Linked DNA regions of Homo sapiens: region 1 is linked to region 2. The links are contacts of gene promoters, found by promoter capture Hi-C in blood cells and fetal thymus (Javierre and others, 2016). All regions are on one chromosome and are shown on one strand. The core of a region is centred on a gene start or on the middle of the fragment in contact, and the rest is flanking DNA. Distances in the headings are between cores, read along the strand shown. Region 1 holds the start of DMRTA2 (DMRT like family A2). Region 2 holds the start of FOXD2 (forkhead box D2).

Evidence for each region. Contacts are between HindIII fragments. The CHiCAGO score rates a contact against its expected background, and 5 or more counts as called.
Region 1: a fragment that was not itself captured here is called in contact with the fragment with the promoter of FOXD2 in region 2 in 2 of 17 cell types (total B cells and naive B cells); the score reaches 12.0 in total B cells.

The regions. Positions count from the first base shown.
Region 1 is chr1:50,420,270-50,424,372 of GRCh38, forward strand. It overlaps DMRTA2 (DMRT like family A2), which reads right to left and starts at 3,174. Exons shown (of 3, transcript NM_032110.3): 1 at 2,847-3,174; 2 at 709-1,275. The coding sequence starts at 1,267. LOC105378714 (a long non-coding RNA gene) reads left to right here and starts at 3,277. Exons shown (of 3, transcript XR_947325.3): 1 at 3,277-3,628. RefSeq lists an enhancer at 970-1,469. The HindIII fragment of the contact is 245 bases long and covers 1,628-1,872 here.
Region 2 is chr1:47,436,099-47,440,623 of GRCh38, forward strand. FOXD2 (forkhead box D2) reads left to right here and starts at 1,946. Exons shown (of 1, transcript NM_004474.4): 1 at 1,946-4,525. The coding sequence starts at 2,038. The coding sequence ends at 3,525. LINC01389 (long intergenic non-protein coding RNA 1389) reads right to left here and starts at 1,219. Exons shown (of 5, transcript NR_126355.1): 1 at 1,192-1,219. RefSeq lists silencers at 426-585, 1,066-1,965, 1,996-2,175 and an enhancer at 3,364-4,133. The HindIII fragment of the contact is 12,776 bases long and covers 1-4,525 here.

The DNA.
Region 1 (4,103 bases), core at 500-2,999, 3.0 Mb after region 2:
AGTTCTTCCCTCCCAAGTTTAGAGCGGATCCCTCCTTTCCCTCAACGGCTCTGGCCTAATTTCTTCCCTCCCCACAAAAAGCCACGGGGGTCCAGAAAAAGAGGGTGGTGCTAGGCAGGCAGTAGGAAGCGAAGAGGAAAAGACATAGGAAAGCAGACCTGAGAAACCAGGGAGGGTGCGGAAGAAACTAGAAGGAGGGAGGGCGCAGCAAGCGGTTGTCCAGAGGGCGTTAGGAACGCGAGAAGGGGAAAAGAAACTAGGGCGTCTCAGAACCTAGGGCGTCTCAAAACCTAGGGTGTCAGTTAAAGGGGGGGGGATTCCTTAAGGGAGTTGGGAAGGAGCAGAGGGAAAGGGCCTGTGGAGAAGCGCAGAGCGAACGAAGATGCGCAGGTTTCCACCTGGGGAGAAGACGAAGCAAAGAAGCAGGGACCTGCCTGCGTTTGGGTAGAGGCGAGTAAAAAAATTAAAGCGTGTACATTTCGGCCCGATGCAGGAGAAAGGGGTAAAGTGCAAATGCTCCAGAAGCGGGAGAAAGGAGAGTTTCTGTACCCACGCTCCATACCCGAGGCTGGGCGAGCGGTGAACCCTAGCAGTCGCGGCGACTGGACACGGGGGTTCTACTCTTTCTGAACCGAGACAAGCCCCTGGGCCCCGTGCCCCAGAGCTACGATCCTGCTGCCCCTACCTGCGGCCTGGCCGCGCTCTCACCTGAGCCCCCTGCGCCAGCTGCTCCGCCTCCGGTCCCCGCGGGCGCTCCCGCTCCAGGTCCCCCGCCGTCGGCGGCGCACACTGAACCGAAGACCTCGTAGGCGGGCCTCGGGGGGATGATGCCGTTGGCGGCGGCCAGCGCCAGCCCCTCGGCAGTGCCGTAGAGCAGCTGCAGCTCGCGCGCCTCGTTCTCCTCCTGCGCCTGCTGCCTGCGCAGCGCCACCTGCGCCGCCATGACACGCTGGCGCTCCGCGATGAGCGTGCACTTGGCGCACAGGCAGTCCTTCCAGCGACAGTAGCGTTTGTGGCCCTTGAGGGCCGACACCACGCCATGGTTGCGACAGCGCGCGCACTTGGGGGTCCGCGGGTACTTCTCGGCTGCCCGCAGCAACAGTGGCGGCCCCCGCAGCAAGCCGCCTGCCACGCTCACCGGTAGCGATGCAGCGGCCGCCGCGGCTGCCGCCACCGACGCCACCGACGCCACAGGCGGCCCCGTCGCTGTTGCCGCCGCCGCCGTCGCCGCGCCGGGCACGCTGGGCAGCTCCGAGCGCAGCTCCATGACAGGACCTGACGGGAAAGAAGGTGGGAGAGGGGAGAGACCTGGTGAGGAGCACACCGCGCGCTAGGCCAAAGCGCCGCCTTGAGGAACCCAAGCTGGAGAGGGAAATTTGGGCCGCGGAGGCTGGGCTAGAGGGGCCAGAATTGCTGGGAGGAGGTGCAGTCGGAACCTCCTTGTGAGCCCTAGCACCTTCACCCCAGTCTGGCCATGGCTGCTCTTAGACCTGATATACACGCTAGGGGTAAGATTTTGTCTGAATTAGTGATTCCGCTGGAAAAAATAAAGAGACATGTAAAGTGTGAAAGTCACTGATTCAGATGGCTGTAATGAGAATTTGGAAAAGTTAAGATGATACCCCAAAGCTTAGCCTAATTGGGGTGAGACGGGTGAGAGAAATGCTCGTTTGACGGGACTGGGATTAGAGCGACAGTTTTGGCCCAGAAGTTAGGCTGATGCCAAGGGCAAAACAGGAAAACCCGGAGCAAAACGGTCAGTTTGGTGGAAGGGTGAAGAGGAGAGAGATGTGAAGGCGCAGATGTGAAGGCCGGTTGGGCCGGAGTTTTGTTTCTTTTTGTTTGTTTATTTTTAATGCAGTTTGGGGCAGAAGCTTTGGAGAGAAAAATCAACAACAGAAAGAATAGCTTTAGGAAGCAGAGTGAGGACGAGGAAACAACTTGGGCAAAGTTAGGCCCAGTGGCTCTGGGACCCGTAAAAATGTGAGCGCCAAAAGTTCCACGGTGAGGGCCTCCAGAGAGTGAGAGACAAAATGTATGTGGAATTTAGCTTAGGACTGGGAAGTATTAAAGAGAAAAATTCGGCCAAAGAAACTTTCTGTATAGGCAAACCCAGCCCAAAGATGAGCTTCATGGGCAAGGAAAACAGTGAAAAGCAGCTGATCTGGGTGTCCGGGATCCAGGGGCCGCGCCTGGGAGAGGGGAATGTGTAAGAAAAAACCCCACAGGCAAATGCTGGGGGAGGGGATTGGGTAAAACCTGTGGTGCAGTTTTTTAGCTTCGCAGTCTGGAGTAGTAGTCGGGGCGGAAGACGTATCCTGCGAAAAGTTAGGCATTTCGGGAGGGGGATCTTTCTCGAAGACCACCTCACACTGCCCTCCCCTCCCCTCCGGGTTTAGGGACAGAGTCGTCAGACACGCCCTCCCCGTCTTGGGGTCCCAGGGGACCCCTCTCGAGCGCAGGCTCCTGCGTTCTGATCTCAGAGTTGGGGTCCTAGGACACGGATGGCCCAGCAGGCCGCACCAAGCCAGGGGAGTCGCCTTCGCAACTGGCCATAAACGGACACCAGAGTCCCTCCCACGCCGCAGCCCCATAAGGCCCAAGCAGGCCCAGCTCCCCGCTTCTGCCGCGGTCTCCTCTGCTTCCCGCGTTCCCCGTCCCTGCCAGAGCCCGCGACAGAGTCCTTGTGTCTCCGTCCGAGAGTCCCAGACCTCCTCTCTATGAGCGTTGCCTCCTCTCCCAGACCCTTCGGGCGTCCCTAAGGCCCACGGGGCCCAGGCCTCCTCAACAGGGGCCGCAGACCAGGTCTCCACCCACTGCTCTCCCTGCGGCCCTCAACTACCTGCCTTGGGCTCCGGGATCCTCCTCCTCCGCTGGCGCTGCACGCGCCTCCCGGCTCCACTGGCGACGCTGGAGCTCTTGGCCGCTTCCCTTTGCCCCCGGCCCCTTATCTGACCACGTCACCCTCCTTCAGTCACCATGTCCGAACTTCCGGACCCCTCAGAACGCAGCGCAGTCCAACCCTCCCTTCAGAAATCCGGGTCGGAGGCTCGTCTGCGGGCCGCGTGGTTGGAACCCGCGACCTGACTCTCGCCGTGCCGGGTCCCCTCGCGGTGCGCGCCGGACGCTGCGCGCAGCCGGGGCCCAGTTGCCCGGCGCTGCCAGACTCTCAATGAGCCGCTCGCCCGCTCTATTGTTGGTCCTTAGGGCTCCATTAGACAGAATTGGACAACAATGTGGCGCCTGCCATTGGCCAGGGGAGGCAGACGGCGCTCTGATTGGCCGGGCCCGCGCCCGGGGAGCCCCGCATTCTGCAGTGTCCGAAAGATTCGAAACTCCAAAAGCTCCACTGCGTGCCTCTGGGAGGGGAGGGGGCGCGCCAGGAAAGGAGTGGAAAAAAGTGGGCGAGGAGGAGCGTTGAAAATTTCCTGACAAGTAGTTTCCGTGCGCCCGAGAGCGTGTGAATTGCTCCTAATTACCGTGTCCGGTGCGCCTCTCTGCGTAGACTTGTGTAACCTCTCGGCTTCTGGGGCGCCGGCTCGGCTGCACCGCTCTTACTGGCCTGGGGCGCTTGGCAAAGCCGAGCTTCCCAAGTGGCTCTGGAGCCCTGAGGCGGGATGGGGGGCAGGTGACAATTCAATTACTGCGGTCGGGGTAGGGGCGGGACAAGGGTGCGGGGGTGGGGAAGGGAGGGTGTTCAAGGCATAAATGCCAGGACGATTTTTCCTGCCTTCTTCCTGCTATGTTTCGGCGCGCTCCCAAATCCGACGAGTTTGGGGTAGTTGGGGGCTGCTTTGGTTTTTTCCTCCTGTCTCCTTAAAGCTCAGTTACTTTATTTTAAAAGTCCTGATACGATAGTCATCCTGGAGGGTAAGTGTGGTTTATGAAGATTTTCGTGTTTAAAGAGAAGCTCAGCGAAGAGAAATGAGATTGCACTTCCTGTCGGTGCCCGCCACGTCCCTCGCGCCCTGAGCCTTTCCTCTCCCCGCCCCTCTTTTCGCGTCCCTCAGCCCCTTTTGAGCTCTCTTTTCCTCACTTTTCAGCATCTCGATTTCTTTTCCGTGGTGGTGGGATTCTTTTTGTCGTTATTGCAAATGAACAAA
Region 2 (4,525 bases), core at 696-3,195:
CTGCCCTTACCTTGGGGGGATGAAGAACTCTATTTTGAGGATTCTGTGAAAAGGGTTGCAACCCAACTCTGTTCTATTTCTTTGCAGGAGCCTGGGTGAGTTCTTTCTCCCTATCCTGGGCCTCTGTAGCTCCATCTGTGGAATGGGAGAGTTGGATTAACACCAGGCTATCCCGTAGATTGGAGGCTGCTGTTAGATGAAACTGCAAAGTGTTCTCAGTACCCTTTCCTAAATGGCCTAGAATATGGCTACACTTATACATCAGTTCTGAGGTAGGTGTTACTAGCCTCATTTTTACAAAGGCAGAAACAAAGCGCAAAGAACCTTGCCCAAGGTGACAGATAGGGTAAGTAGTGAAGGCAGGATTGGAACCCCAGGAGCCTGACTTAAGGTCGCTGCTCTTAACTACTATGCAGACCAGGAAACTGAGGCTCCGAAGCGGGGAAGTCACCTAATGAGGGTCACACAGCCTTGCTACAGCGGAGGCAGCTGGGATTCCGGCCTCGCACGCCCGAGCTTTAGCCACTGTGCGGCGCTGTCGGGGCAGCAGCCCAGGCATCCGCTCAGTTCCTGCTCACGTCCAGCGCCCATCTCCCCTTCCGTGCCCCAGAGGCTGAAATGGGCCCAATCTGTGTTGAAGCTGCTTGTTTCTGGGTCCTGGAGGGAGGCCGGGGGAGAAAGAGGTCTAATAGGATGGGCAGGAACCCGGCTAGCGAGAAACAAGGCACAGGGCCAACCTTAGTTGCACAAGACTTTTGAGAGATGAAGGCAACACTTGGTGGAGGTCAGGGTTCACTGAGGGGGTGTCGGGCAGGGGGCGGAGGAGGTCCTGCCGCCTGTCGGTGGGGCCCAGAACCCTGGGAGCCAGGAAGGTGGGGGGTGTCCAGTCCTCAGGGCAACTGGGGCCAGGGAGAGGGGAGGGAGAAATTAAGCGGATTCCCAGACCCATGAACAGACATCCAGACAAATGCCGTTTCCACAGAGACTCACGGAGAGTGAGATAGTCACAGAGACTGAGACAAACGGATGCCGAGATCCAGAGGGTCGGAGAACAGGCAAACTCGGAGCAGTAGACCGGCCCGCGCCCCGGGAACGCGGCCACAGCGGCCGGCGCTCTGCCCGGCCTCTCCGCGCGGAGAGGGGTGGCGGGCCCGACAGCGGAGGGAGGAGAGGGCGCCGCCGCAATCTCACCTCTCCCAGGCCCAAGGCTGCGGGCGCCAAGTTCGCTCCTGGTGATCACTCGAATGCGTCTCCCCTCGGGCTGGAAGCCGTGCGGGCTCGGGTGGGCGCCGGCGGGCCGCGCTGGGGCGGCGTGGGTCCCGGCGTCTCAGCCTCGCGCTCCCACTGCGCTTCGGCCCGGTGGCCCGGGCGCCGCCTTGGGGAGAGGACGGGTGGGGACCGCCGCCACTTCCCTGGCTGCGGCTGGCGCCCGAGTGAGCCTTAACATCCAGGGGCTGAGCGTTCTGAAGGCGGCGGCTTCAGGGAGCACAGGGTGCAGGAGCGGCGGCGAAGACAAGGGCCCGCCTCCGGCCACTCGAGCCCAGCTCCCGCCGCGGCGGCGGTTTGTTCCCGCCGGGTCCCTCAGCGGAGGCGCTACGCCCGCCCCTGTCGCCTCGCCCCACCCCGCCCAGGGAGCTCCGCCCTAGCCCGCAGCTCTTCCGCCTTAGGCAGCCGCTAGGCGGGAGGGACAATCCCCCACCACCAACCACTGCCACCCCGAGGGGACTAGGGGCTGAGGCCCGCCCAGGTAAGGGAAAGCCTCAGCTCCTTCCGTTGCGCCCCAGCGGCGGGTCCCAGCTCGGATTCCCGGGGTAGTGGCGGGGGCCGCCGGCGGGTCGTGCCCTGGAAGGTGAGCGCGGCCGAGCTGGGCCGCCAGGGGGCGCTGCGGAGCCGGGGGACACCCCTCCCTGCCTGCCTCAGTCCCCCGCCCCCTCCCCGCCCGCGCGCAAAACGCACTCGCCCCAGAGGCAGCGCGGCCGAGCCCGAGCCGCTGCCGGAGCGGAGCCGGAGAGTGGCGGCGGCGGCGGCAGCGGCACCATGACCCTGGGCAGCTGCTGCTGCGAGATCATGTCCTCCGAGAGCTCCCCGGCCGCGCTGTCCGAGGCCGACGCAGACATAGACGTGGTGGGCGGCGGCAGCGGCGGGGGGGAGCTCCCAGCTCGCTCCGGGCCCCGCGCCCCCCGGGACGTGCTCCCCCACGGCCACGAGCCTCCCGCGGAGGAAGCCGAGGCAGACTTAGCCGAGGACGAGGAGGAGTCTGGTGGCTGCTCGGACGGCGAGCCCCGCGCTCTGGCGTCCCGGGGGGCGGCGGCCGCAGCGGGGAGCCCGGGGCCAGGCGCCGCGGCGGCCCGCGGCGCAGCGGGGCCCGGGCCGGGACCGCCGTCGGGGGGCGCGGCGACGCGGAGCCCGCTGGTGAAGCCGCCCTACTCGTACATCGCGCTCATCACCATGGCCATCCTGCAGAGCCCCAAGAAGCGGCTGACGTTGAGCGAGATCTGCGAGTTCATCAGCGGCCGCTTCCCCTACTACCGGGAGAAGTTCCCCGCCTGGCAGAACAGCATCCGCCACAACCTCTCTCTCAACGACTGCTTCGTCAAGATCCCCCGCGAGCCGGGCAACCCGGGCAAGGGCAACTACTGGACGCTGGACCCGGAGTCGGCCGACATGTTCGACAACGGCAGCTTCCTGCGGCGTCGCAAGCGCTTCAAGCGGCAGCCCCTGCCGCCGCCGCACCCACACCCGCACCCTCACCCGGAGCTGCTGCTGCGTGGCGGGGCCGCGGCGGCGGGGGATCCCGGCGCTTTCCTGCCCGGCTTCGCTGCCTACGGCGCCTACGGCTACGGCTACGGGCTGGCTCTCCCGGCCTACGGCGCACCCCCGCCGGGGCCGGCCCCGCATCCGCACCCGCACCCGCACGCCTTCGCTTTCGCCGCGGCAGCCGCCGCCGCTCCTTGCCAGCTGTCGGTACCCCCAGGCCGCGCCGCCGCGCCTCCACCCGGACCTCCGACGGCCTCGGTGTTCGCAGGCGCGGGATCGGCCCCAGCTCCTGCGCCTGCCTCAGGCTCGGGCCCGGGCCCGGGCCCCGCAGGCCTGCCCGCCTTCCTGGGCGCGGAGCTGGGCTGCGCCAAAGCCTTCTACGCGGCGTCCCTGAGTCCTCCCGCAGCCGGCACCGCGGCGGGTCTGCCCACCGCACTTCTGCGCCAGGGCCTCAAGACGGACGCGGGCGGTGGTGCAGGCGGCGGGGGCGCCGGGGCAGGGCAGAGGCCTTCCTTCTCTATAGACCACATCATGGGCCACGGTGGCGGCGGGGCAGCACCCCCGGGCGCCGGCGAGGGCTCTCCGGGACCGCCATTCGCGGCAGCCGCGGGTCCTGGGGGCCAAGCCCAGGTCTTGGCCATGCTGACTGCTCCGGCCCTGGCTCCCGTTGCTGGCCACATTCGCCTCTCGCATCCCGGGGACGCGCTGCTGTCCTCAGGGTCCCGGTTTGCCAGCAAAGTCGCCGGCCTTAGTGGCTGCCACTTCTGACCGCAGCAGGCCCAGGGCCGGTTAGGTCCGCACTCCTCAGCCTCTCCCGGGAGTTCCTGCGGTCCCAGCGGAACTCAGGGAGTCTATTTATGAAGTCTCCAGACCTTGGGCCGGCACGCGTGACACGGCACTTCAGGCTCCACGCACAGAATCTCGCAGATAGTTGGGACTAAGCGGGCTCTATCGCTCAGGGCGACAGGCCCGGGGCTACGCGAAGAAGTCGCAGGCCAAGATTCTTTACAGTTTGAGAAATAAAAGCAGGGGGGTGGGGGCTTCGTTTTTTTCCCTGCCTCTGCGCCTCTCGGGGAACACATTCCGGGAGAGATGCCTGGCCAGGCTCCACGGATCCCGCCAGAAACACCAACAGAGGGTCTCCCTTTCTGCCTTTCCCCTCTCACTTCTTCCCCAACGTTGAGACCCTGCTTGTCCAATATTATAATTTAAAGACATCTATTATCTGCTTTGTGCTTAAAAGAAAAATTCAACCTTTTTTTTTTTTTTTTTTTTTTTGCTGTTCTCCAAGGAAGTTCGTTTCCTCTGAAGCCTAAACCAGTGTCTACGCAGGCGGAGCTGAACGGAGAGGTGAAGCAGGGGGTCTTTATATTCCCTGCAGAAACCCTGGATCCCACTCCACTGAGGAAAATCCTTTCTCTTTTGTGTTTGGGTGCTTTTAAAGGAATTTCTTTCCTTTCCCTTGGCTGGCTGGGTCCAGCCATCTCCGGCCAGCAACCCTGTCAGTGTTCCACCCTGTCCCAGGCCCTGTGATATTTATTGTGGCTAAAGGCAATGAGATTGGGTGGAAGAGAAGGGTCTGGGCCAGGGACTGGAGAGGTGGGGGTGGAGTGGGCAAGGGCACACCCTGTGGCAGGGGGTCCTATAATTTTGTGTAAATATCTGTACAGCGCGCTGCTCTCGGCGTTCTCTGTCCACTGGGTGTGCATTGATTTAAACTTCTCCACTGTGGGGAAGCTCTGTGAAATCGTCTGATGGTCTGTGTGGA